Regions from separate parts of the Homo sapiens genome. Here regions 1, 2, 3, 5, 6 and 7 are each linked to region 4. The links are contacts of gene promoters, found by promoter capture Hi-C in blood cells and fetal thymus (Javierre and others, 2016). All regions are on one chromosome and are shown on one strand. Each heading gives the region's core, a stretch centred on a gene start or on the middle of the fragment in contact. The rest is flanking DNA. Distances are from core to core; before and after follow the strand shown. Region 1 holds the start of SIGLEC12 (sialic acid binding Ig like lectin 12). Region 2 has its middle 9.4 kb from the start of SIGLEC10-AS1. Region 3 holds the start of IGLON5 (IgLON family member 5). Region 4 holds the start of FPR3 (formyl peptide receptor 3). Region 5 overlaps ETFB (electron transfer flavoprotein subunit beta). Region 6 holds the start of ZNF836 (zinc finger protein 836). Region 7 overlaps SIGLEC6 (sialic acid binding Ig like lectin 6).

Region 1 (3,901 bases), core at 1,248-3,747, 290 kb before region 4:
GGTGGAGCCAGCATCCTCCTGACCCCCAACTCCCAGCCAAGATTCCAGGACCCAGATCCTTGAGTCTGGGTCCCACATCCAACTGGCCTCAAGGAATCCCGATCAAAGACCCAGACGTCCTGGCCCAGAACTCACAGGATATGTTGAGTCGGACAGCCCTGGTCATGGTCACGCCGGCCCCAGGCAAGGTCACCTGACAGGTGAGGCTGGTGCCATGGTCCTGGGGCTGTGGGATGAGGCTGAGCATCGAGGAGCGAGTGATAGTGGGGTCCAGGGAGGACACGGAGGCCCCCATCCAGGTGATCGTGGGGGGCGTCCCCTGTTCACAGGCCCAGGGCACAGAGCAGGTCAGGTTCCTGGGGTGGCCAGACTCCAGGGTCCCCGGGATGGAGAAGGTGGGCATGTGAGTCAGGGCTGGTGATGAAAGGGAGACAGGCAAAATGAGGGTGTTGGGGTCTGAAGTGTGGTGCTGAGGAGGCTCAGGCTCTGGTCTTACTCCTCCCCTGAGCCAGATATGCTTCACCTCCAACTCCCTCCCAGGATGGGGGTCCCACCTCAGCCCTACCCTGCGGCCCTCGGGCCTTCCCCTCTGGCTGGTCCTAGAGCCAGAGATTTACCTGTCACATGCACAGAGAGCTTGTCATATATGTAGTTCCATTTCCTGCTTCCTCTCTCCACCTGGAAGTAGTACTTCCCTGAATCCCCCTTCCTGGCATCTCTGATGCTCAGGGAGCAGTTGTTGGTCTGTGGGTCCCCAAGGAGGAGGAATCGACCGTGGGTATCCTCTTGCACTTTTCCACTTGGGGTGTTTGTGGCCACTGGAATATCCCATGGTATATCGGCCCCTTCCTTGAACCAGGATCCATAAACAGGGCTAGAGGCAGTCCAGTTGTAATGGGGGTAAAGGACACTGCAGGGCACAGAGACACACAGACCCTCCTGCACAGTCACCGACTCTGGCACCTCCAGCCTGTATCTTGACAGTAGGTCCTGGGACGCTGTGGAGAAACGAGGGTCAGCCCAGCCCCCACTGTCCCTCTCTTCATTTGCCCATAGCAGGGGCAGCAGCATCTCTGAGGCAGAGGCTTCCTGGGCTCCCTGTGTGAGCAGAGAAGGGGGAGGGAGAGGAGGGGCAGGGCTGTGGGACCCACAGGGGGCTGGAGAGGAGCTGGAGACCTCAGCCCTGCATGGAAGAGAAACTGCAAACCCACATGCTATAGGAACTCATTCCCTCTGCACAGAGTGAAGGAAACCCTAAAGCTCAGAGACCCTAGAGACCCACCCAGGGAGGAGAAGAGACCGTGTCCCGCCTCCTACCTCCGGGCTTCCCTGAAGCACCAGGGCCTGCACCAGACACGTAGGTCCTGCCCTCCCGGCCTCTGGACCATCGTGGAGGTCCCTCCTGTCTTTTGAGCATCTAAATGTGGATCTCCGAGGACCTCGGGGCATGAGAGATGGAGGGGCCGTGTGCTGAGTCTCCCTGTCCAGGCTCAGGTGCCTCTGCTGCCCTTGGTTTGCGCCAGGAAGTGCTTCCTCCCTGGCCTGGCCTGAGAGAGTCACGGGGTTGTGTAGACCTAAGGCTCTCAACTGGGGAGGACTTAACCCCCCAGGACGTTTGACAATGTGTGGAGATAATTGTCTCGCTGCATGGGTGGGGTGGGTGCTTCTGGCATCTGGTGGGGAGAGGCCTGGGATGGTGCTAAACCCCGGCCATGCCTAGGACAGGCCCCAAAACAAGGAGTCATAAGGCCCCACATGCCACAGTGCCAGCGTCAGAGGCAGGATGAGGATGTCAGGCCTGTGGGTCAGGGCTGGTGAGGGGAGGGGCTTGCAGGATCAGGAGGGGCATCCAAGGTGCGGTCCTGGGGAAGCTCAGGCTCTGGTCCAGCTCCTCCCCTGAGTCCATCACCCCCGGCCCCCTCCCAGGACATGTGTCCCGTCTCAGCCGTGCCCTAAAGCCCTCATCACATTTGCCTTTGGCCTCTCTTGGAGCCCGTGCCTTACCTGTCACATTCACAGAGAGCTGGTCATATTTATAATTCCATTTCATATTTCCTCTCTCTACACAAAAGACGTATGTCCCTGCATCACTCTCTCTGGTGTCTCTGATGCTCAGGGTACAATCCTTGTTCTGTGGGTCCCCAAGGAGGTGGAATCGGTCCCGAGTCTCCTCCTGCACTGCTCGAGCTGGGTTGTTTGTGGCCACTGGAATGTTCCGGCTTACATGGTCCCCTGCCCGGAACCAGTAGCCATGAACTGGATCGGAGGCAGTCCAGCCATTTTGGGGGTAGGAGAAGGAGCAAAGCACAGAGACACACAGGCCCTCCTGCACCGTCACGGACTTCTGCATTGTCAGCAGGTAATCCTTCTGTTCCTTAGCCCCCACTCTCCCACAGAGCAGGGGTGGCAGCAGTAGCAGCAGCAGTAGCATGTGTCGGGTTGGAGGTGCCAGGGTTGCTGAGGTAAGTCTGTTCCTCAGGGTTCTTCTCTCAGGAACTGAGAACTCAAGATTTCGAGGAAGCCGCACAGGAAGTTGGGGGTGGGTTCTGAACGGTGACCTCACAGGAGGAACTTCACACACAGACACTGTCAGGGCCGGGTCACCCCTGGAAGATCCACCGTCCACTACCCCGTCCACTCCTGGGGACCCTGAGGCCAGAGAGGATGAAAGACTCACCCAGATTCCAACCCCATGCAGGGCCCACCCCGCCCACTGCCTCCCTCTCAGTGCCCTTCCCCTTGGGTGATATTTTCCATAAGGTGAAAATGAGTCCCATGTGGCCAGACCTATGAAGTACAGGCTGTGGATGTCTCTCTGTAGGTCAGAGGTGACACTAGGATATAAGAGATGGGGGTGCAGGTGGGATGAGCAGGCAACCTCTCCTTCCTCCCTCAGCGGCCGTGAGGTGGAGTTCAACACAGCAGAGCTAGACACTGTCCCCAAAGAGTCACTGTGTAGTGGGGAGACACTGAGGCTCCTGATATCTGAGCTCTCCATGGCAGGAGCTTCAGTGGGGGTACCAGGCAGGGTGTGGTCGCTCTCTCCTATGTTGGGGAATCAGTCTCGGGAGGACTGAGCAGAGAGACACGGGGTCGTGGAGGTGAGGATTCCGTGTGTTGATACACACCAAAGACACAGAGAAGAGCCCAGTTCACAGGAGGCCTGAGAAGCTAAGGCTGTGACTGTTGTACAGTGAGGTCTGGAAGGGAGGAATGTTGGATGGGAAGGGACAGATTTCTAAAGGGGCAGGCGTTTCTCTCTCGGCCATGGCTCTCTGGGTTCAGGATGGGATCCTTCACCACTGCTCTCTCACAAGTCCTCCTTACTCCAGAGCATGAGGGGTCTGCTGGCCCTTTGTTCCTGCAGGCTCTGCTCCCAGGGTTTCAGGTGAACAGGAGACGTGGAGCGAGGACACCAGCCCTGGCGTGTCCACGCTCAATGATGGACAGGATTTCATGGGAGAAGAAATGCACCTGAATTCAGCAGAAGAGTTTTTGAAACTGTATGCTATGTACTGGGAGGAAGGTGGGGAAAATCCTGCAAGATTCGCCCTCCTTAGACCCATGTCAGCTTTTCTTGAAACAATGATTTTTGGGGAAATGTAATACAAGTAAATAAAAGTGCCACCTAAAAAAATGACTCAGTGATTTTCACCAAATTATCACTGTTCAAGAAATAGAACATCACAAGATAATTGCCAAATTTCTCCCATGAGATGAAGAAAGAAATTGCATTCATTTATTCAGCCCTGTGTTTCCCCTTCCTATAGGCCACATGCAGTTCCTCCTGAAGATGCCCCAGCCTCACTTTAATGATAATGGTCTCCTTGCTTTTCTATGTAGTTTTATCATCTGAGTGCACTGCCTTCAATACTATGGCTTTGCATAGGTTTTTCTAAAG
Region 2 (3,834 bases), core at 1,123-3,622, 390 kb before region 4:
GTGGTGCTCTCTGGAGCTGGAGGCTGTTGATGTAGGTGTGGGAATTACCACTTGGGAGAGTTCATCTCTGCCTGTTTCAAAATCCATCGTGAGCATTGCCAGTGCTTTCTTGAAGAGCTCTCATGAGCGTGGGGCAGGATTGGTGCCATCTTCATATCACAGGCTGTCTTAGTTCATTTGTGTGGCTATAGCAGAATACCACAAACTGGGTAATATTTAAATAATAAAAAAGTACTTCTCATGGCTCTGGAGGCTGCGAAGTCCAAGATCAAGGCACCAGCAGGTTCAGTATCTGGTGAGGGCCTGATCTCTGCTTCCAAGATGTGCCTCTCTTATGGAAGGTGGAAGGGCAAAAAGGGGCCAACACTGCGTGAAGCCTCTTTTATAGTCTAAATCCCATTCATGAAAGAGGATCCCTCATGACATAATTACCTCCTAAAGGCCCTGTCTCTTCATATTATTGCATTGGGGATTAAGTTTCAACATGAATTTTGGAGGGACACAAACTTTCAATCCATGGCAGAAACTCTTTGCAGAGCCATTTTGCTGCAAAAACTTGAGGGTGGGGGTATGACTTATTTAATAAAGATGACATTTTCTGTATAAATGATACCTAAGTCCTCCTCATTAGCAAATGTCGAATAGGACATTTTCTTTTTTTATTATTATTATACTTTAAGTTCTAGGGTACATGTGCACAACGTGCAGGTTTGTTACATATGTATACATGTGCCATGTTGGTTTGCTGCATCCATTAACTCATCATTTACGTTAGGTATTTCTCCTAATGCTATCCCTCCCCCATCCCCCAACCCCACCACAGGCCCCGGTGTGTGATGTTCCCCGCCCTGTGTCCAAGTGTTCTCATTGTTCAATTCCCACCTATGAGTGAGAACATGTGGTGTTTGGTTTTCTGTCCTTGCGACAGTTTGCTCAGAATGATGGTTTCCAGGAATAGGACATTTTCTTTCTTTTTCTCTTTCTTTCTTTCTTCTTTTTCTTTTTCTTTTTTTTTTTTTTTTTTTTTTTTTTTGAGATGCAGTCTCACTCTGTTGCCCAGGCTGGAGTGCAGTGGTGCAATCTTGGCTCACTGCAACACCCACCTCCTAGGTTCAAGTGATTCTCCTGCCTCAGCCTCCCAAGTAGCTGGGATTATAGGCACCCGCCACAACATCTGGCTAATTTTTGTATTTTTAGTAGAGACAGGGTTTTGCCATGTTAGCCAGGCTGGTCTCGAACTCCTGACCTCAAGCGATCCACCCGCCTTGGCCTCCCAAAGTCTTGGGATTACAGCCGTGAGCCACTGTGCCCCGCCCCGAATAGGACTTTTTCTGTTGCCTCTTAAATGGTTTAAAGAGGGCAGCCAATAATGGGGTCAGAAAGCTTCTCTCTGCCTAGCTTCCCAAAAAAACAAAGCTGCCAGCTGGCTGTTGGACAGGTGAGAAGTCTTTGGTGAGATGCTTCATCATCCTCTCTTTCCTGAACTCTTCACGTGTACCAGGGCTCTGGATAGGAGGGGGTGCTCCAAGAAAATGTTTAGGAAAGACTAGGGTTTCCTGATAGAATGGGAGGAATCAACACACTATCTCCCCATTGGGTGTCTGTGTGGGCAGCCAACTTCTTGCTGTGCCCTGCATCTCCCTGCGCAGGGGAGAGGAGCATTAGAGAGGAAAAGCTGGGGGCAACGAGGAGCTTGGGGCAGTGTAGCCTGCACTCCACAGTCCAGCATGGTTAGGATGTGTGGGTTTCTGAGTCCTTTCTGGCTACTATAACAACAATACCATAGGCTGGATGGGTTGTAAACAATGAAAATTTATTTCTTATAGTTTTAGAGGCTGGGAAGTCCAAGATCAAGATGTCAGCAGATTCAGTGTCTGATGTGGACTCACTTCCAGGCTTACAGATGGTGCCTTCTGGTTGTGTCCTCACTTGGTAGGAGGGACAGCTCTCTGGGGTCTCTTATTAAGGGCACTAATCCCATTTATGAGGGCACCACCCTCATGACCTAATCACCTTCCAAAGGTCTTGACTTCAAATATCATTACATTGGGGGTTAGGAATTCAACCTAGACTTTGGAAGGACACATACATTTTGTCTATAGCAGGGGGTGGATGGACACGAAGGAGGGTAGCTGGGCTTCTGCAATCTAGGTGATATGTCACCCAAGAAAGCGGTAAGAGGCTGCATGGTGTCTGCCAATGGTGGAATTGGAGAAGGTATGGGAGAAGCAGGGGACACAACTCTCATATCAAGAAACAGAGGAGGCTGGGCACGGTGACTCACATCTGTTATCCCAGCACTTTGGGAGACTGAGGCAAGCAAAGCAGTTGGGGTCAGGAGTTGGAGACCAGCCTGGTGAACATAGCGAAACCCCATCTCTAGTAGTAAAAATACAAAAATTAGCTGGGTGTGGTGGCGCGCACACGTGTAGTCCCAGCTACTCGGAAGGCTGAGGCATAAGAATCGCTTGAACCCGGGAGGCAGAGTTTGCAGGGAGCCAAGATCGCACCATTGCACTCCAGCCTGGGCAGCAGAACAAGACTCTTGTCTCAAAAACGAAAACCAAACAAGCAAACAAACAAAAAAACATGATTGACTCAGTGATCAGAAAACATATAACTATTTTATATTCATACTTCCTGCAGTTAATGTCCCAGTTGACTGGTTAAAAAGAATATTTGGGGGCCAGGCGCAGTGGCTCATGCCTGTAATCCCAGCACTTTGGGAGGCCGAGGCGGGCGGATAACAAGGTCAGGAGATCAAGACCATCCTGGCTAACACAGTGAGACCCCGTCTCTACTAAAAATACAAAAAATTAGCTGGGCGCGGTGGCAGGCACCTGTAATCCCAGCTACTCGGGAGGCTGAGGCAGGAGAATGGCATGAACCCGGGAGGCGGAGCTTGCAGTGAGCCAAGATTGCACCACTGCACTCCAGCCTGGGCGACAGCGAGACTGTCTCAAAAAAAAAAAAAAAAAAAGAAAAAGAATATTTGGCAATACGGAAAGTTCCCCTTGGGTTTTCTGACTCCAAGCCTGGTGTTTTTGTTTGTTTGTTTGTTTGTTTTCATTTGCACAACATTGCCTTTCCCCAAGAGTACTGGATAACAATGCCCTCCCTCCAAGTCCCAAGTCACTATTGCAGAAGTCAGGACCTTAACACACACATTTCAAAGTTACTGACACCTAGTCAAACCTGGTGCCTTAGCAATGCAATCTTGTAATTTCCCAGGTCAAACAGATCTTCAAGGGTTGCTCTCATGGCAGAATTTGGTGGTAGAAGGAAGGAAGCAGAGTCTCAGTCTTTGTGCAGCTTGTAGGGAGTTCCCTTTTTCTCAAGCCCTTGCAGCATCCTTCCCACTCTAAGCTTAAAGGAGACTGTGTAACCAGCAGTGCTCACCCATCCTGGGCCTGAGTTTGAATCCCAGCTCTGGAGTTCAGCTGTGTGACATGCAAGACCTTGTCCCTCTCTGAAGTCCTTCTGTAAAATGAGGTGGCTGCATTGGGTGATCCCATTCCACACCATGAGTCTATAGTCCTATCATCCTGGGTATACCGACGTCTGGTGGCCAACTTTGGTCCTTGCAGCTAATTCAGGTTTTTTCTTTGTTTTTGAGACATAGTCTCGCTGTGTCACCCAGGCTAGAGTGCAGTGACGCGATCTCAGCTCACTGCAGCCTCTGCCTCCCAGGTTCAAGCGATTCTCATGCCTCAGGATCCTGAATAGCTGAGGAATACAGGCACCTGCCACCACACCTGGCTAATTTTTGTATTTTTAGTAGAGACAGGCTCTCGCTCTGTTGCTCAGACTGGTCTCGAACTCCTGAGCTCAAGT
Region 3 (3,617 bases), core at 591-3,090, 480 kb before region 4:
ATGTGAGTGGAGGGGGAAGGAATTGAGGATGGATATGTTTCTGAGGCAGAACAGCCCCTACTGGGTAACTTCAAAAGCTCCTGCCTTGAACTGCTACAGAAATAACGTAGACTCAGAGATTATTTTGCTCCTGCGTATGCCAAGGGGACGGGAACAGGAGGGTGGAATACACCTAGTAAACAGATGCAAAGTGGAAAGGGGAGGGAGAAACTCACTACAGGTTTTTGAGGTGCTGGCTGGAGCCAGGAGCTGCTCCAAGATCTCTCATTCTTCTCAATAACCTTGGGCAATAGGGAATTTTCCACCTTGCAGGGGAAGACGCTGAGGTTCTGGGAAGAGAAATGGCTTGTCCAAGGTCACACAGCCAAGTCAGTGAAAGAACAGGGAGCCAGGATGTTTTGCACCTAAACCCTGGATTATGGTTTCCTCCCCACCTGCTCCCCCAAGATAAGTCCCCCAATCCCTTCCCATTGCCTTATTATACTGGGGATGAGGGTTGGGGTGGAGGAAAAAAGCAAATTTCACTCCAAAAGTCAGTGTTTTCGTTATCCATGAAAATAGATGGAAAAGCTGAACTGTGGCCCACAGGAAGAGGGGCCTGGGGGCCTGGCCTCCTGGGTCTGAGGGAGGAGGGGGCTGGGGGCCTGGACTCCTGGGTCTGAGGGAGGAGGGGCTGGGGGCCTGGACTCCTGGGTCTGAGGGAGGAGGGGCTGGGGGCCTGGACTCCAGGGTCTGAGGGAGGAGGGGCTGGGGGCCTGGACTCCAGGGTCTGAGGGAGGAGGGACTGGGGACCTGGACTCCTGGGTCTGAGGGAGGAGGGGCTGGGGGCCTGGACTCCTAGGTCTGAGGGAGGAGGAACTGGGGACCTGGACTCCTGGGCCTGAGGGAGGAGGGGCTGGGGACCTGGACTCCTGGCTCTGAGGGAGGAGGGGCTGGGGGCCTGGACTCCAGGGTCTGAGGGAGGAGGAGCTGGGGGCCTGGACTCCTGGGTCTGAGGGAGGAGGGGCTGGGGGCCTGGACTCCTGGGTCTGAGGGACGAGGGGCTGGGGGCCTGGGCTCCAGGGTCTGAGGGAGGAGGGGCTGGGGGCCTGGACTCCTGGGTCTGAGGGAGGAGGGGCTGGGGGCCTGGACTCCTGGGTCTGAGGGAGGAGGGGCTGGGGGCCTGGGCTCCAGGGTCTGAGGGAGGAGGGGCTGGGGGCCTGGACTCCTGGGTCTGAGGGAGGAGGGGCTGGGGGCCTGGACTCCTGGGTCTGAGGGAGGAGGGGCTGGGGGCCTGGGCTCCAGGGTCTGAGGGAGGAGGGGCTGGGGGCCTGGACTCCTGGGTCTGAGGGAGGAGGGGCTGGGGGCCTGGGCTCCAGGGTCTGAGAGAGGAGGGGCTGGGCCTGGACTCCTGGGTCTGAGGGAGGAGGGGCTGGGGGCCTGGACTCCTGGGCTGAGGGAGGAGGGGCTGGGGGCCTGGACTCCTGGGTCTGAGGGAGGAGGGGCTGGGGGCCTGGACTCCTGGGTCTGAGGGAGGAGGGGCTGGGGGCCTGGACTCCAGGGTCTGAGGGAGGAGGGGCTGGGGACCTGGGCTCCTGGGTCTGAGAGAGGAGGGACTGGGGCTAGTCTCCTAGGTCCATGGGAGGATGAGATTGGGACTTGAAGGAGGAGGGAGCTGGGTTTTAGGAAGTATCCCAGACTCCGTGTTCTGCGGATGTGGTGGAAAGACGTGGGGACGCCTGGGGCGGGAGGGGTAGGGGCCGGGCCGCAGTAACAAAGGCCTCTCCCTCCAACAAGCAACCCCCCCTTGACCCCGCCTCCCCGGCCCCCCACCTCTCCTGATTGGCCGGTCTCCCTGCCCGTCAGCGCCGCCCCCCTCCCCGGGTCTGCAGCAGCTCCAGCCGCCTCGTCGCGCCCCCCCAGCCCCCTCCCCCCGCCCCCGCCGCCCCCCGGGCCGGTGCAGCGCAGGCGGGGTCCCCCTCCCCCTCCCCCCTCTCCCCCCAGGCCTCGCGCGCCCCGGACCGGCCCCCCCTTTCCCCTCCCCCTCCGCGCCGCCTCTGCCGCGATGCCCCCCCCTGCGCCCGGGGCCCGGCTCCGGCTTCTCGCCGCCGCCGCCCTGGCCGGCTTGGCCGTCATCAGCCGAGGTACCGCAGCGCCGGGGGCGGGGGGCTCGGCCGGGACGCCAGGGTCTTGGGTGGGTAATCGGGGGATCAGGGGTGGGGGTCGAGGGCTGCATCCCTGGGCCGGCGCGGGGAGGCCCCGGGACGCCGGGGTCTGGGCCCGGGGGTGGGGTCTGCATTCCCTGGCTGGGCAGGGGGACCTCGGACGTGGGGGTCCGCGCCCCGGGGCAGGGGTCGGCGTCCTCGGGCCGGAGCCGGGTCTAGGGGCGGAGGTCTGCTTCCCCGAGCAGGCAAGAGGGTCGCAGACACCTAGCCCTGCCTGGGGGCAGGAGTCTGCGGCTCCTGTTGAGGAGGGGGCAGACACTGGACTCGGGGTCCCCGGGTCGGATCTCCGAACTGAGTTGGGGTGGGGGGCAGGGGATAATGCCCTGTTAGGGGTCTTCATCTGTACGTGGAGAGGGTCCCTGAAGAGGTCCTTGCCGGGGGCTGGGGTAGTCATCTCGGGACAGAGGTCAGGGGATGGATGCCTTCCCAGGGTCAGTAAGAGGAGGGGACAAGGGTGTCCACAGACCTAGTCCCAGGGTCAGGAAAAGAGGGGAAGGGTCTGAAATCCCCCAGCAGGGTCATCTAGGTTGAGAGAAAGTGTTGGTACTTGGGGAGGTTGCAGTTATGTGGGGGAGAAGGGAGCTGGAGATACAGGAAGTTGGGGTGCTGGGCTGGGGTCTTGGATTCCCAAGCTCTGATTGAATGTCTAGGTTCGTGGGGCTGGACAGTGGAAGAGCGATGGGCATGGGAGGATGAAGGAAAGACGGAAGGGAAGGGTTAAAGCAGGTTGAAGGGTTAACCCCGGCCCGGCCCGGCCCTCCCAGTTGGGGAGAGGGCCAGGGGCAGGTTTCTGCACTGAGGTTAGATAGCTGGACCTTGAGTCTCCCCAGTAGGGCCTGGCAGGCAGGGGGTGGTCAAGGAGATTCCTAGATTTCCCCCTAAGAAAAGGGAGGAGAGTGCAAGGAGGCAGGAGGCTGGAGGGTGGGCGCTCAGGAGGGCAGGGAGCTGGGTTAATTCAGACTTTCTGGAGGATTCCCCCAGGCCCTCCCCTGAACAAAGAGTTCCAGGGACAACCAAGAACCCCGACAGAGTCCCCAAGAGTCTCAGAGAGGCCGCCCGCATAGACCAAGTCTGGCACAGAAACCCCGTCACAGCGTCCCACCCGAAGCAGCACCTGCAGACACCAGTCACACAAACACAGCCCCATCCACGCAGGACGCAGGGACCTGGTGGGCCACAGCCTCAGTCCCTTGCTAGTCCTCCCCCGTCTCCCACCTGACCAGTCTGAATCGCCCTCTGACTTTCTGACCACCTGTCTCTGTCTCTGTCATGCATCTCTTTAGGTCTTTGTGTCCCTGCCATTTCTGGAGGTTCCCATCCCTTCCCATCTCTGTTATCCACTGCTGACTTTCCACCTGCCTCTGTCTCTGGGTCATTGTCTCTCCATCCCTGCTGCTGACAGCACAGTTCCAC
Region 4 (4,019 bases), core at 104-2,603:
ACTGGTCACCAGAAAGACCAAGGGATTAGAGGGTTGGAGCTGTCAGCCCCACCTACTGATCTCCAGGAAGGGGAGGCAGGGACTGGAGATTGAGTTCCATAAAAACTCTTGAACAATGAGATTTGATGAGCTTCCACATTGGTGAACACTCAGGAGTGCTGGGAGAGTGGCTGCCTGAAGAGAGCATGGAAGCTCCATGCACCACCCAACCCCTTCCCTGCCATATACCTGCCATATGCCTCTTTCCAATGGACTATTCCTGAGGTATATTCCTTATATAAAGCAACAGATGCAAACAAAGTGCTTTCCTGAGTTCTGTGTGCCATTCTAGCAATTTATTGGTGTCATTGGAACACCCAATTTATAGCCTGTCAGTCAGAAGTACAAGTAGCCACCTGGGACTTGCAACAGATGTCTGATCTGATCTGAGAACAGTTTGTGGGAGTGAGCCCTTTAGCTTTTCGGATCTGAGCTGAATCCAGGTAGACAGCATCATAACCGAATTTTTAATTGCAGGTGGCCCAGGTGGTGTCCCCAGAGAATTGGAGAATTTCTTGGTGTAGAGAAAAAGTATATTTGGTCAGAAGGATTGTGAAAGTAGAGAATCGAGTTTTTGTTTCACCGTGCATCTTTGTTTTTTTATTGTTTTTCCTCTCATTCTTCTCACCTTGGTAATTGTTTCTTTCATTTTCCTGAATCTCTGAAAAGAAAGGGCCTGGACTCTCAGATTTCTTGGCCTTTGATATTTGGAAGGATGAACTCCAGTCTCCCACAGAAGGCTAGAGGTGAAGGAACATTCAGACACATAAGTTTCCAAGATAAATCGTCTGAGAACATCTCCAAGGTGTCTTCTGGGAATGGTAAGAAACCCTGAGTTTGTGTCACTGGATTGATTCCAGCTCCATTGTCCCCGTGTCCTTCAACTAAGTCTCTGCTGAAGCCTGTTCTATAAAAACAGCAAGTAAGTGGTTTGGACTGACCTATTGTACTAGGTTCGACAAAGCAAACCAAATGGAGTCAGTCATACTAAAACTCCACATCACCAAACCAAAACTAATGTATCTGAACTTTTGAGAAATCAGGAGAGAGAGAAAATGGACAAATTCCTAAAACAGGCCAGTTTCAGTGGGCATGAACATGAAGTTCTGTCTGCTTTCATCTTTACAAAAAAAAAAAAAAAGCAATCTGTGGTAACTTGACTTCAATCAATCAGTTGTTCCTTATTGCTGTCTCTCTATTCCTGCTGCACAAAAAAAATGCAACATCCAGATGACCAATCAGGTTTTTGTTCTCTGTTTCTGCTTTCTTTAGCCCTCCTATCCCTGTAAAACCAACTTCCTTGGCTCTAACTATCAAAACACTCATTTTGTTTTATAGCATGACAGGCTGTCTGATTCCATCTTTATAACCAAAGCCAATTAAGATCTTAAAACCAAACATATAACTTCATCTTTTTACAAGTACTTAGAGCCTGAGTTGCTCCACAGGAATCCAGGAACTGGGCACAGGAAAAGGATCTAAGCTGGTGGTAAGTTGGGGTCTGAAAATTTTAAAGTTATTGTTGAAATGCCTGCTATATGACAGAGCCCTTCTAACTCTGGAGTAGCGTAGTCCAGTGAAGAATCCACTTCGTTAGTATGAAAACAATGTTAACTATTTCATTAACAGTGTTTAATTTGGTTACATGTTCCAGTAACATTCTTTTTTTTTTTTTTTTTTTTTTTTTTTTTGATGGAGTCTTGCGCTGTCACCCAGGCTGGAGTGCAGTGGCACAATCTCAGCCCACTGCAACCTCTGCCTCCCAGGTTCAAGCGATTCTCCTGCCTCAGCCTCCTGAGTAGCTGGGATTACAGGCACCTGCCACCACGCCTGGCTAATTTTTTGTATTTTTAGTAGAGACGGGGTTTCAATATGTTGGCCAGGCTGGTCTTCAACTCCTGACCTCGTGATCTGCCCACCTCGGCCTCCCAAAGTGCTGGGATTACAGGCGTGAGCCAATGTGACTGGCCAATTCTTTATCATATATGTAATTAAATAAAATTTATTACTAAAATAATTTCCCCAAAGGTGTTTTACTTTTTTAAAAACAGTGGCTACAAAAAAATTTTGAGTCCCATATGTAGCTAAAGTTAACACATTATATTTCTACTGGACATGTAGCATTGTAGAGATGTAGCATTGAAGGATCTTGATAGTCCTGTGGAGCTTACGTACTAGTGTGGAGGGTATTTAAGAGAGAAGATAAATGAACAAACAAATAAAGGAGAAAAGTATCTGGTGAGATAGGCTGTACCTGAGCATTCTGCTTTGCAGAGTGGGTGAGGTGGGATCTCTCTGAAATAATATTTGACCTGAAATATGAATATTCAGGATGAGCCAGGTGCAGGAAGCTCAAGACGAAGAGCACGGTAGGCAGAAGGAATAGAGAAAGCAGAAGCCCTGAGATGACAAAGAGCTGCAAGTTCAAGGAATTAGAGCCCAGTGGGTGGAGCCCAGTGTGTCTGATGAGAGTGCAGAGATGAGGTCTGAGGGATGCACAGGGCACATGTGGCAGTGGATAAGGGAACCTAGGATAAGGGAACCTAAGATAAGGGTAACTTAGAAGTCTGGAAGCCATCGGAAGGTATTGCGAATAACATCACCATCTTATTGGACCTTTTTAAAGCTCATTTGGTTTCTGTCTGGAGAATGGATCTTAGGGGAGGGGGCAGCAGGACCAGGAAAAAGCTATTTGCAAGGCTTGTGCAAATATCCAAGCCTGACAGGGCCATGGACACCGGTCGTGGAGATGGCAATGGCTCTGGCTGTGCATTCAGCATGTTCTGTAGATAGAATGAGTAAGACGTGGATGGCGTTGGGTGGTGAGGAAAAGAGAAATGAAAGGTGAGTTCTAGATCTGGAGCTTTAACAACTGAATATTTAATCTCCAAATAGATACAGAATATTGGAAGAGTGGCAGGTCTGGGAGGCAGAGAACATCAACAGTTTGGTAAAACCATGTGAGGTTTGGAGTCTATGGGACTCCCACGGGGAGAGGTTTTATCAGACTTGAGTGCCAGGGAGAGGCCACGGCTGATAATTTAGATGAAAAGACAGCATAATGGTTTAATCCCAGAGACTGGATGATATCATTTATAGAATGTGAGATACCCCAACATTTAGAGTCAAATTTAGAATAGAAAACACCGTAAATTGGACTAAAAAGAGGAAGAGAATCGAGCTGTAGAGACGACCAAGAGTGTATTGTGTGCACATATCTCTTGGATATATCTCATGGCATAGGAAAAATGTGTTTGAAAAGGGAGAAAGTGATCCAATGGGTCCTGTGTCATTGGGATATCAGGTCTTAAAAACTGAGAAGGACTCACTGGATTTGGCAGCCTGGGGGTCATAAGCATCCTTGGGAAAATGCATTAGGTGGAGTGCTAAGGACAGAAGTCAATGTGGAGTGGATTAAGGAGAACAGCTGAGGCGAAGAAGGAAAAGGAAGAATTAGAGACATTCTCTTTGGATGTTTGGCTGGAAATTCTGTCTTACAGACAGACCTTACAGAGAGGTCATTTGGCTAGATAGGGTTGAAGCTGGAAAGAAATATGCTTCAAAGGAGGTTTCTCTTGAAAGAGAGGGGGCGTGATTATGTGATAGAATGATCTAGTAGAAATACAATTTTCAATTTTTTTGGTATAAAAAATGATCTTTTATCCCTCACCACATCCCACCTCAATCTAAGTCTTAACTTTCTCGTCTGTACAATGGTTATACAAATTAAAACTAACATTAATCAATATTCACCGTGTCTCAGGGTGTGTTGAGTGCTTACACATATTAACACATCCCATCCACAGAGCCTATGAGAGGAGTTGTGAGGGTTAAGGGAGAAGCTCTTGGTGTGTGGATAATGTTCATAAGTAGAAGCTACTATTGCTATAAGCATCGTTCTTGTCCTGACCCTGAGCTTCATAGTGCAGGGTTCGGGATTGTACCCCACAACACAACACACAGCCTGGTGAGGGCTAAGA
Region 5 (3,620 bases), core at 1,121-3,620, 440 kb before region 4:
CGCCCAGCTAATTTTTGTATTTTCAGTAGAGACAGGGTTTCAACATGTTGGCCAGGCTGGTCTTGAACTGCTGACCTCAGATGATCCCCCAAAGCTCTGGGATTACAGGCATGAGTCACCGCAGCCAGTCGGGTTGGCAAACCTTTTCTATGGTGGAACAGATGTAGTAAATATCTCAGGCTCTGCAGGTCATACGGTCTCTGTCACGGTGACTCAGCGCTGCTGTTGTAGCACACAGGCAGCCATAAATAATATGTAAATGAATGTATGTGGTGATGTTCCAATAAAGCTTTATTTACAAATCAGAGGTCGCTCTGGGCCATAGTTCACTGACTTTTGGTCTAGAACGATCCCCTCACTTGGGCCCAGAGATAAGCAGCCACTTGTCCAGGGACATGTGGGGCCACCTGGCATCCCTGTCGTCAAGTCTCTGCCCTCTGTATAAAGCCTCTCAGGAGTCCCACCCTATGTGGCCCCTGGGCAGCTGCATGAACAGGGTCTGGGCCAGCAAGGACATTCTAGCCCCAGCCCAGTGATTGGTTCAGGGAGGGGCACATGACTCAAGCTGCACCAAAGAAGAGTCAGCCCTGGGAGTTTGCTGGGGCCCTTGGGAAAGATGCTCCTTTCTTTCTGCTGGGGTCACTGGGCTGGTGGGATCTGAGCCTGGAGATGCAGACAGTGAAGACAAGGTAGAGGGGAGCCTACAGCTCATATGTGACCCTGGATCAAGCTGTGCCTGAAGCCCCTGATTTACGTGAGATAATAAATTCGCTTTCTGGCTTAAGCCAGTTTGAGTTGTGAATCTGCTTCCTAGAACAAACAGCATCCTGACCAGTTCATCCGGCATTTCCCCAGCTGGAGGCCCTGGCCCCAGGAACTGTCCCTGGCCCAGGACAGGTAGGACATCGGAGTCTGAGAACGACCAGCAAATGCAGGGGGCTGCAAAGGCCATGCTTCCAGCACCTCGGCCTCTGCAGCCCCACCCAGGCCCTGCCTTTTTGGCCTGTTCTCCGGGTAGGCCCTTCGGCCACAGTTGACTGATCTGTACTCTGATGCCCCTGCTGTTGATAATCTCTCTCTGTTTTCTTCTGACTTTCTCAGGGCTGGGCAGGACACCCAGTGACCTACCTGGACCCATCAGCCTCCTCTTTGTCCCAGAACTGACCTGGCCCTGGGATCCCCATCTCTCTCCGGGGGCCCCAGCTCTACCTGAGCCTGCTGTGCTCTGCTGTCTCCGTGCTCTGCTTGACATACCTTGCAGTCTTTGGCCTTCCTTCTCAGCCTCATCCCTAATTCCCTGCCTCTTCTCACTCCCATCTGCCTGTGGCTCTTCTGACGTCCCTCTTCTGCCCCTTCCCTGGTTGAGGCCATGAGGTTTGCCCTCAAATGAGATGAGCTACCCCTGAGCAGAGGTGGTGCCCGAGGGTCTCCTGGGGGAACAGATGAGCTCCATGTACCCCTATCTCAGTGGGGAGCACCAGTGTGGCAGGGAAGGTTCTGGTCGGGTCCTCACCCAGCCCTAACCTCCTTCCCTAACTCCTGGCCTCCAATTTCCCATTCCAGTCCATTCTCAAAGCCCAGGGGGGCTCTTTCTGCACCTAGTGCTGATCCCACCCCTCTTCTGCTCATAGAACTCCCATAGCTCCCCAGTGCCCTCCAAAATTCTCAAGTCTTTGTTTCAAGCCCAGGCCTGTCTCCTGAACCTGCATCGATGTCTCCTGGGCTCTTCACACTCCCCTTGTAGGATCCTCCTCTAACCTCCTGTTCTTCCTGGGTTTCCTACCTGTGTTACCAAGGCAGACCCAGGCACTGTCCTTGCCTCCTCCCTGCCCTCCCTCCCCATGCTAAGCCCAGTCTCTCCTGCCACATCATGTCTCTGCTCTGTCCTGTCACCTTTGGCTGAGGCCTCATTCTCCCCCATGTGACCATCACCTCGGCCTCCCAGCCTCTAAACTCACCCAAAAGGATCTTTCTTCTTTTTTTCTTTTTGAGACAGAGTCTCGCTCTGCTCCCAGGCAGGAGTGCAGTGGTGCCTGGAGTGCAGTGGTGCGATCTTGTATCACTGCAACCTCCGCCTCCCAGGTTCCAGTGATTCTCATGCCTCAGCCTCCCAAGTAGCTGGGATTACAGGCAGGTGATACCACACCCGGCTAATTTTTATATTTTTAGAAGAGATGGGGTTTCACCATGTTGGCCACGCTAATCTCAAACTCTCGACCTCAAGTGATCCACTGGCCTCGGCCTCCCAAAGTGCTGAGATTACAGGCGTAAACCACCGTGCCTGGCCCAAGAGGATCTTTCTAACACCCAGAGGGACTCTGTCCTCCCTGCTCAAACTCTCTGTCAGAAGGGTCAGCAAAGTCCCAAGCTGCTCAGCCTGGAGTGGTGAATGCCCTGGGCCTGGCCAGCTGCTGTCTCACCCCGTATCTCCACCACCCTCCTCCCGAGCAGGGATGAGCAAGGGGGCACAGGGAGGGCTGACCACAGCTACCTGTTTGCCCAGCAGCACCAGGTCCACCTTCTCCTTCTCTGCCAGCTTGGCCAGGACCCGAGCCACCTGCAGGGGACCCAAGCGTTCTGCTTCTGCTGGGGGCACCTCCACGTGGATACCTCGGTCTGCACCCATGGCCAGGGCGGTACGAATCGTCTCCTGCCAAGGACAGAGGGGCTTGACTTGGCTGCTATCCTCAGGGGGACCTAGGAGTCTGGCTCGCAGCCCCTCCTTCCTCAGACCCAGGAGTCCAGGGCCCCATCCCCTCCTTCCTCAGACCCAGGAGTCCAGGCCCCCATCCCCTCCTTCCTCAGACCCAGGAGTCCGGGCCCCCATCCCCTCCTTCCTCAGACCCAGGAGTCCGGGCCCCCATCCCCTCCTTCCTCAGACCCAGGAGTCCGGGCCCCCATCCCCTCCTTCCTCAGACCCAGGAGTCCGGGCCCCCATCCCCTCCTTCCTCAGACCCAGGAGTCCGGGCCCCCATCCCCTCCTTCCTCAGACCCAGGAGTCCGGGCCCCCATCCCCTCCTTCTTCAGACCCAGGAGTCCAGGCCCCCATCCCCTCCTTCCTCAGACCCAGGAATCCAGGCTATCAGCCCATCCTCCCTCAGACCCAGGGGTCCAGACTTCCAGCCTCCTCCTCCCTCAGACCCAGGAGTCCAGGTCCCAGCCCCTCCTTCCTCAGACCCAGGAGTCCAGGGCCCCATCCCCTCCTTCCTCAGACCCAGGAATCCAGGCCCCCATCCCCTTCTTCCTCAGACCCAGGAGTCCAGGGCCCCATCCCCTCCTTCCTCAGACCCAAGAGTCCAGGCCCCCAGCCCCTCCTTCCTCAGACCCAGGAGTCCAGGCCCCCATCCCCTTCTTCCTCAGACCCAGGAATCCAGGCTATCAGCCCATCCTCCCTCAGACCCAGGGGTCCAGACTTCCAGCCTCCTCCTCCCTCAGACCCAGGAGTCCAGGTCCCAGCCCCTCCTCCGTCAGACCCAGGAGTCCAGCCCCCTCCCCAAGACCTTCATCACCTGGCACTGTGCAGGCCCACAGCTGACGGCGATGACCTCCTTCACCAGCTTCTTCTCCTTGAGCCGCACAGCCTCCTCCACCGCGATCTCACAGAAGGGGTTCATGGAGTG
Region 6 (3,960 bases), core at 1,048-3,547, 380 kb after region 4:
AATCCCAGTACTTTAGGAGGCCGAGGCCGGCAGATCACCTGAGGTTGGGAGTTCAAGACCAGCCTGACCAACATGGAGAAACTCTGTCTCTACTAAAAATACAAAATCAGCCAGGCGTGGTGGCACATGCCTGTAATCCCAGGTACTCGTGAGGCTGAGGCAAGAGAATCACTTGAACCTGGGAGGCGGAGATTGCAGTGAGCCGAGATGGCACCATTGCACTCCAGCCTGGGCAACATGAGCGAAACTCCGTCCCAAAAAAAGAAAAAAGCAAATCCATTACCAAAAAAAAATAAGACTCTGAATACTCATACAAAGATATACCTCGTAGGCCTGGCGTGGTGGCTCCCGTCTGTAATCCCAGCACTCTGAGGCAGAAAGACTGCTTGAGCCCAGGAGGTTGAGGCTGCAGTGAGCGGAGATCATGGCACTGTACTCTAGTCTGACAGAGCAAGACCCTGTCTCAAAAAAGAAAAAAAAAAAAAAAAGACATACCTTGTAGTGACAGTGACAGTCATTTATCGCCCCATTTCTCAGTTACTCTATCCTCTACCCCATCCCAGGGAAGAAAAGAGTTACCACGAATGACTTAATTTAAATGCTCTCTGGCTAAACAGAAATTCCAAATATCTTTTGATACAAATAAATACAAAATGCACAAGCCTTACAGAAAAGAGTGGTAATTTTCATCCTCACGAGTACAATTTAAAGAAATGAATTTTAAATTAGAGTATAAAGTCACAAATTAGAATATTACAACCACCATCCATATCCAATCAACTCATCGCTCATCTGGATGGGGTCCTCTCCCACTTTCTTCACTATTGTGTGTGTCCCTCTCTCATTCTGCACCTTTCCTCCCCTTTTCTGTTTTTCTCCTCTTTATGTCTGTTCTGCCCGATGCTCTGCAACTTACTTCACCTCTCGTAGCTCTTTCTCCCCAATCTTTCTGATTGTCCCCAATCTCCACGTATTTCCGCCTCTTTTTCCCCATCTGAGCTCCCTCTCTGCTCTCCTTGTTAAAATTCCCTCTTACCTGTTACACCTCCTTTGTTCCCACTCTCTAGCACCCCCAACTCCCTAGGCTTCCTCCCTGCTGTGGTTCTCCCTCTACTCTGCTTGTCACCCACTGCCCTCTCTCCCTCTCTTTCAGTCCCAGCACCACGTAGCTCTGTCGGCTGCGGCTCCAACTCTTTCACCTTCTCCCCACTGTCTGTCTGCAGTGCCTCCTCCTTTGCCGCCCCACTCTATTTTGCTGCCTTTCATCTCTCTGAAGGTCCCCCTTTTTTTCTAAATTTCTCTGTGTGCTTTCCTCCCCCTGCTTCTTTCTCCATTCGTTCTCTTTCACTCTTGCTGTCTCTTTGCAAATCCCTAAATTATCATCCATTTTGCCGTGTATTTATGGGTCTCCCTCATTCTCTTCTATTCGGTCTTTCCTTTTGCTCCGTCGCTCCCCTTCTTTTCCTCTCCTGATCCCTCTCACCCACACATTCAGTAAGAAAGGGGAGGAATAGGATGCCCACCTCCCGGAAAAGCATATTTTCCAGTGGAGTAAAATTTGGGAAGGAAGAACACTGGGTGTCACAAGACTCAGGTGACCTCCCCCAAGGGGGGGATCGAGAAAAGCAGTGGCTGTGAAGGGGAAGCCTGGGGAGCGAAAGGACCCGGCGTGAGGAGGACACAAGGTGGCAGGGGGTACGGTGTCTCAGGACAGGGAGGGTCTGCAGAATCCCAGGACCTGGGAGGAGAAGCGACTCCTTCAGGAGCCGGACGGCGGGCGCTCCCCTCCAGGGGCTGACGACGGAGAAGCTCCGGGGTCGCAACGGGCGGGAATCCACCTCCCGAGTGAGGACTCGACTTGGCGCAGGGCCGAAGCAGAGGTCAGTAAGGGTTTTAAGCAGGAACACGACCTGAGTGGGGTTGTCTACATGGTCCTAAGGCAGAAAGGCAGGGAGCAAGGAACAGCCTCAGAGAGATTTTTAAACCGAAAGGGAAGCAATTATCAGACTTACTTGGGGCGAAGGGGCTGTTGCTGGTATTTTAAGGTCCGTAGCGATCCCCAGGAAACGGGTATGGACAAGGGAAGACTGCCAAGTGCACGTTCGATTCAGGCAGACGGGGCGAAGCAAATGTTTAGTCCAGGTAGACGGAAACTGACGCGCAGCGCTGTGATCTTTTCCCCGCGCGATCTGCTTCCGGGTGTGCAGGAAGCTACACGCCCTGAGAAAAAAGACTGAGAGACCTGGGGCGGGAGAGGGGCCTGGGCGGGGTGCGACCCGCAAGGGAAAGGGCAGAAAGACTGGCCAGATTTGGGAACCCTGAAAGGGTGGGGCAAGGCTGATGCGGTAGTGGGCGGGGCCAGGTGGGCTAAGCGGGACGGGCGGTGTGGGCGGGACCTGTTTGGTGGGCGGGGCCTGTTATTCGCTCTGCCTTCCACCCAGCAAGTCTTTGTTCTCCCGATTTAGGAGTATTTGTGACTATTTCTTGTCCTGTGAAGCAGCGTTGCTTCCTGCCTATTTTAAGTTAATGTTTTAGACTTTAAGGTCAAAGCTTAAAGTTGTGGTCCACTTCTGTTGGAAACTAAGATGTTTTCTTCTTGTCAAGTTGAACTGATTTAAGTCAAAATCGATTTTTGCGAGCCTGGTGGACTCCATCGGGTCTTGCCAGTGAGGCTGAAGCCAGTTAAGGCTGAAGTTACTCAGTAGTCAGGGAACTAGGATCTCCGTGAAGATCTGATGTGCAGCCGTGGCTGGATCCAGGAACCCTGAAGACATTATGCTAAGCGAAATGTGCTAGACACAGAAAGACAAATCCTGCATGTGCTTACTTACATGTGCAATCTACAAACATCAAAATTACAGTAACAGAGTAGAAGGGTGGTTTCCAGGGCTGACGGTCTATCCTGTGCCTGTCCCACCATTGTATTTTGGAAGCAAATAGCTTCTTTGGCTTCACAGTTTCACAGCTGGACAGAAATTTTGCCTCAGGATGAACCACACTTTGAGTCTCACCCATATGTGATTCAGATAATATTTGGGTAATATTTGGGCCTTAGAGTTTGATACTGAAATGGATTAAGACTTTTGAAATGGGCCAGGAGCAGTGGCTCTGGCCTGTAATCCCAGCTCTTTGGGAGGCCAAGGTGGAAGGATTGCTTGAGCTCAAGAATTCAAGACCAACCTGGGGCAACATAGTAAGACCCTTGTCTCTACAAAAAATACAAAAATTAGCCAGGCATGGTGGCTCACGCCTATAGTCACAGCTATTTGGGAGGCTGAGGTGGGAGGATCTCTTGAGCCCAGGGGATCAAGGCTGCAATGAGTTGTCTTTGCACCACTGAACTGCTGCCAGGGCAACAGAGTGAGACTCTGTCTCAAAAAATAATAATAATAAGACTTTTGAGATGTTAGGATGGGGGTGAAGGGATCTTGCATGTGAGAAGGACATGAATTTTGGGAGTCCAGAGTACAGAATGTTATGAGCTGAATCACGTCCCTAAAAAATCATTGTTGGCCAAGCGCGGTGGCTCATGCCTATAATCCCAGCACTTTGGGAGGCCGCGGCGGGCGGATCACAAGGTCATGAGATCGAGACCATCCTGGTTAACACGGTGAAACCCTGTCTCTACTAAAAATGCAAAAAATTAGCCGGGCGTGGTGGCGGGTGCGTGTGGTCCCAGCTGCTCCGGAGGCAGAGGCAGGAGAATGGCGTGAACCCAGGAGGCGGAGCTTGCAGTGAGCCGAGATCCAGCCACTGCACTCCAGCCTGGGCGGCAAAGCGAGACTCTGTCTCAAAAAATAAATAAATAAATAAAATAAAATAAATCATTGTCTTTAAGTTCTAACACCCAGTACCTCAGAATATGACTGTATTTTGAAATAGGGCATTTAGAGGCTATTAAGTTAAACTAAGCTTGTTAGAATGGGCTCTGATGCAATCTGACTGATGTTTTGATAAGAG
Region 7 (4,105 bases), core at 970-3,469, 270 kb before region 4:
ATTTTTGTATTTTAGTAGAGATGGGGTTTCACCATGTTGGCCAGACCAGTCTCGAACTCCTGACCTCCAGTGATCCACCCACCTCAGCCTCCCAAAGTGCTGGGATTACAGGCGTGAGCCACTGCTAACTGTGGTCTTTTAAGTGTAATCTATCTTTTTATTTTTCATGGCTACTCTTAAGAATTTTCCTTAATAGTTGGTCTTCATTAAATGCTTTCTTCAATTTCACTGGAATAGTGGAGACTGGGATTTGTAAGAGGAAGCTGTGGAAATGGACATGGGGTATTGGTGACTGGTGAGGAATTGATCTGGGGAAATCTGGATGGACAAGATCATGTAGAGAGCCTTGAGCAGAAAGATGATGGATGGAAACCTTATTTTGGGGAGTCGTGAAGAGTTCTGAACAGGGGGTGACACAGACACCTGGTGCTGTGGCCTCTGGGCCTACTCCTTTTCAGCCTTAGAAGAAATTGCCAGCAGAAACCGTCTGTTAAAACAGCTAATCAAAGCCGGGTGCGGTGGCTCATGCCTGTAATCTCAGCACTTTGGGAGGCCGAGGAGGGCAGATCACGAGGTCAGGAGATCAAGACCATCCTGGCTAACACGGTGAAACCCCGTCTCTACTAAAAATACAAAAAATTAGCCGGGTGTGGTGGTGGGTGCCTGTAGTCCCAGCTACTTGGGAGGCTGAGGCAGGAGAATGGTGTGAACCCAGGGGGCGAAGCTTGCACTGAGCCAAGATCGCACCACTGCACTCCAGCCTGGGAGATACAGCAAGACTCCATCTCAGAAAAAAAAAAAAAAAAAAAAAGCTAGCCAAAGCCAGATACAAGGCATTCATTTACAAAAATATACAGACTTTATGAAAACCTTTGTGTCAGGGCCTTTGTTAGCTGTTTTACAGCTAACAAAGCTGTATGTTAGCTGTATGCTTTCTTTGACCTTTCACAATAATCTGGTTAGATGGAAATTATTTCCCTGCCTTACAGAGCAGGGACATAAAGCGACTTGCTCAATAGCTGGCATAGATGGAGTTGAACTCAGTTCTCTTGGACAGAAGTCCTGTGGTCTGCCATATATACGAAGGTATTTATATAGTCCATTTACAACAAAAACATTAATTTTAAAAGAATTGGACACAGTGTTATGGGCTAAATTGTTCCCTTCTAAAATTCATATGTTGGAAGTCCTAAATCTCAATATCTCAGAAGGTTACTGTATTTGGAGGGTCTTTAAATAGTTAATTTATTTAAATTAGGTCATGGGGAGGCCCTAATCCAATATGACTAGTGTCTTTATAAGAAGAGAAGATTAGGACACAAACACACTCAGAGGAAAGACCATGTGAAGACACAAGGAGGAGACAGCCATCTACAAGCCAACAAGAGAGGCCTTAGAAGGGACCAACCCTGATAACACCTTGTTCTCAGACCTCTAACATCTGAAACTATACGAAAATAAAGTTCTGTGTTTATGTCACTCGGTTTGTGGTACATTGCTGTGGCAGCCCTAGTAACCAATACACTGAGAGGTACCATGTTCTCTCCAATCAAGGTTATGGCTTTGGACAATTCCTCACTTGTGTATCTTGATTTCTGAGTACTCAGTGTCGGTGACCTTTGGTTCCTGAGGTTGCACCTTGTGGAAGTGTAGGACAGCGTAGTGGAGCTCCTGCTCATCTTCTGAGATGGGGCCAGCCTCAGCAGGGTGGTCTGAAACTATGCCTGTCTGGAACTGGTGCTGATGACCCTTAATGGAAGAAAAGAAAAGATTCAGGGCTGGACAATAGGTTCTCAAAGAAAGCAGCCAAGGATCAGAAAGGGAGTAGAACTGATGGAACTTTATTATTTATCCATTCATTTATTATTTTATTTTATTTCATTTTATTTTATTTTATTTTTGAGATGGGGTCTCGCTCTGTTGTCCAGGCTGGAGTGCAGCGGCATGATCACGGCTCAGGCAGCCTTGAACACCTGGGTTCGAATGAACCTTCTGCTTCAGCCTCCTGTGTAGCTGGGACTACAGGCATGCACCCCACCTGGCTAATTTTTGTAGAGATGGAGTTCTACTATGTTGCCCAGGCTGGTCTTGAACCCTGGGCTCAAGGAATCCACCCACCTTGGCTTCCTAAAGTGCTGGGATTACAAGCATGAGCCACCACATCCACCGCATTCATTTATTTTAAAATATTTAATAATTAAGATTGGCAAGCCCTTAGTGAGTGTTTACATTAATCAGTCATATTCTATTCTCAAAAAATGCTTTGCAGTGGATTCCATGATTACATTCATCTTACAAACGGGAACACTAAGGCTAAGAGAGGCTCCACATGTTGCCTATAGACACACATCTATATAAATGCACCACTGAGAAGGACTCAGAACCAGCTTATTGTTGTGTAGGTCATGTGACATGTGCTAGATGTTAAGCCATGAAGAAAGCAGACACAGTCCCAGATAGTAGGCAGTGTGGTTTTCTATGAGATGCAGTTAGTTAAAAACAGGAAACAAAATCACTTTTTTAATTCATGATAGCAGATATTTTGAAATATAAAGCAGGGGCAGGAGTGGCATATCTGATTCCTAGACAGGTACTGGAGGACAGAACAGAGACCGGGTCCTGCAGTACAGGCCACCGGACGCCCTCTCCTGTACCTTCTCTTTCTAATGCCCCTGAAAACTTGAAAGTAAAGCATGGTAAAGAAATTATGTAATGATTCCCAACAAAGTGGGGATTTAACACACACTAAGTGTGTTATATCTCCAAATAAACCAAGAGGCAATACAAGAAATTATGGAATGAGCAAATAAGAAAAAGTGGGAAATCTCTGGGGAAACAAAATATTTTATACTGGAGTGTGTGTGTGTGTATATGTGTGTGTGTGTGTTCAGGGAGGCATTGGTGACAGTGCGTGAATGGCTACAGAAATGAGATTTATGTTCCACTCATGTCTTTCCTCCATCATTGGGATAATATATTCCTGCCTGCATTCTTGCTACACAAATCAGTGGCAAAGTCCGAGACTAAAGGTGTGAATTTCTGCAGGAGAAATGACAGATCAGCACAAAAGCCCTACTGAATGAAGAAAATAACAGGTGGAAATTGCCTCTCCCTGGGCTTCCCCTGGCCACCTTCCCCCATCCACACATCCCAGACTTTTGGAAGACAGTCTAGGTATTACCTCCCCCAGCACCAATTTTTCCTGAGGGTCTGAACAACAGGAATCATGACTTGAATTATTCTTGGTCAGTTCTCACTCAGGCTATGGTAGAGTAACTGGCACCCTCCCAGCATAATTAGAAAACTATACATAGTATGTAAAATATGTGTTTCACAAGGAAAACAGGCAGACAGGACTGTGACATCTGAAAGAAAGGAAACCAATGAGGTGAGTCTCATGATCAAATGACAATTTCCAAACTGCAGTACGTGGAGGATAAATTCAAGCAGAACACAAGAGTCTTATGAAACTGTGGAGGCAGCAACTGCAGTTCAAGTGGGAATGATGTGGGTGGAATTTGTAGAGCAGAGTACAGAGAGAAAAAACTACACAGAGAAAGAACTCCAAAAAATATGCATAGAGGTCCCCTTGAATCTTTGGCTGAATACTAAGCTGTATGCACAGAGTGAAAGGCTGAAAGCCTGGGTACGTGCTGCTGGAGAAGGAACAGCTATGAGAAAGCTGGAATGAAGGCAAATATAAACTCACCCTGCCAAAGCTTTTGTAAAAATCTTTGAATGGTCAAGACAATCCACTAATAAATTAACTGCATTCGAGAACAAAGCTCAACAATTTTTAAAGGAAGATTAAAATATCCGGATAATCAACAATGTAACACGATGTCCAGTATGCCACCAAAATCACTACCTATGCGAAGAAGCTGTGGAATGTAAGCAATGAAAAGTATATCAGTAAATAGAAACATATCACCAAATGATGGAATTAGCAGAAAAGAAGATTAAAAACGGCTATAAATACACATATTCAAAGACTTAGGCCAGGTATGGTTGTTCATGCCTGTAATCCCAGAACTTTGGGAGGCTGAGGTGGGCAGATTGATTTGAGCTCAGGAGTTCGAGACCAGCCTGGGCAACATGGTGAAAT

Evidence for each region. Contacts are between HindIII fragments. The CHiCAGO score rates a contact against its expected background, and 5 or more counts as called.
Region 1: a contact is called between the fragment with the promoter of SIGLEC12 here and the fragment with the promoter of FPR3 in region 4, in 2 of 17 cell types (neutrophils and monocytes). The highest score is 9.2, in neutrophils.
Region 2: a fragment that was not itself captured here is called in contact with the fragment with the promoter of FPR3 in region 4 in 4 of 17 cell types (monocytes, M2 macrophages, M0 macrophages and 1 more); the score reaches 13.3 in monocytes.
Region 3: a contact is called between the fragment with the promoter of IGLON5 here and the fragment with the promoter of FPR3 in region 4, in 4 of 17 cell types (neutrophils, activated CD4 T cells, erythroblasts and 1 more). The highest score is 11.2, in neutrophils.
Region 5: a fragment that was not itself captured here is called in contact with the fragment with the promoter of FPR3 in region 4 in 1 of 17 cell types (neutrophils); the score reaches 6.1 in neutrophils.
Region 6: a contact is called between the fragment with the promoter of ZNF836 here and the fragment with the promoter of FPR3 in region 4, in 2 of 17 cell types (erythroblasts and fetal thymus). The highest score is 5.2, in erythroblasts.
Region 7: a fragment that was not itself captured here is called in contact with the fragment with the promoter of FPR3 in region 4 in 1 of 17 cell types (monocytes); the score reaches 5.2 in monocytes.

What each region holds. Positions count from the first base shown.
Region 1 is chr19:51,499,303-51,503,203 of GRCh38, forward strand. It overlaps SIGLEC12 (sialic acid binding Ig like lectin 12), which reads right to left and starts at 2,498. Exons shown (of 8, transcript NM_053003.4): 1 at 2,005-2,498; 2 at 618-998; 3 at 136-414. The coding sequence starts at 2,431. RefSeq lists an enhancer at 261-760. The HindIII fragment of the contact is 28,149 bases long and covers 1-3,901 here.
Region 2 is chr19:51,404,395-51,408,228 of GRCh38, forward strand. No RefSeq gene overlaps it. Among named protein-coding and RNA genes, the nearest start is that of SIGLEC10-AS1, 9.4 kb to the right of the region's middle. RefSeq lists an enhancer at 3,489-3,538. The HindIII fragment of the contact is 1,983 bases long and covers 1,382-3,364 here.
Region 3 is chr19:51,309,804-51,313,420 of GRCh38, forward strand. It overlaps IGLON5 (IgLON family member 5), which reads left to right and starts at 1,841. Exons shown (of 8, transcript NM_001101372.3): 1 at 1,841-2,123. The coding sequence starts at 2,045. The HindIII fragment of the contact is 5,776 bases long and covers 1-3,617 here.
Region 4 is chr19:51,793,804-51,797,822 of GRCh38, forward strand. It overlaps FPR3 (formyl peptide receptor 3), which reads left to right and starts at 1,354. Exons shown (of 2, transcript NM_002030.5): 1 at 1,354-1,528. The HindIII fragment of the contact is 12,110 bases long and covers 1-4,019 here.
Region 5 is chr19:51,350,641-51,354,260 of GRCh38, forward strand. ETFB (electron transfer flavoprotein subunit beta) reads right to left here. Exons shown (of 6, transcript NM_001985.3): 2 at 3,510-3,620; 3 at 2,492-2,650. Among named protein-coding and RNA genes, the nearest start is that of VSIG10L, 10 kb to the left of the region's middle. The HindIII fragment of the contact is 4,167 bases long and covers 288-3,620 here.
Region 6 is chr19:52,169,324-52,173,283 of GRCh38, forward strand. It overlaps ZNF836 (zinc finger protein 836), which reads right to left and starts at 2,298. Exons shown (of 5, transcript NM_001102657.3): 1 at 2,013-2,298; 2 at 325-458. RefSeq lists an enhancer at 1,697-1,836 and a silencer at 2,417-2,466. The HindIII fragment of the contact is 2,622 bases long and covers 1-2,548 here.
Region 7 is chr19:51,518,507-51,522,611 of GRCh38, forward strand. It overlaps SIGLEC6 (sialic acid binding Ig like lectin 6), which reads right to left. Exons shown (of 8, transcript NM_001245.7): 8 at 1-1,749. The coding sequence ends at 1,576. Among named protein-coding and RNA genes, the nearest start is that of SIGLEC6, 11 kb to the right of the region's middle. The HindIII fragment of the contact is 2,995 bases long and covers 723-3,717 here.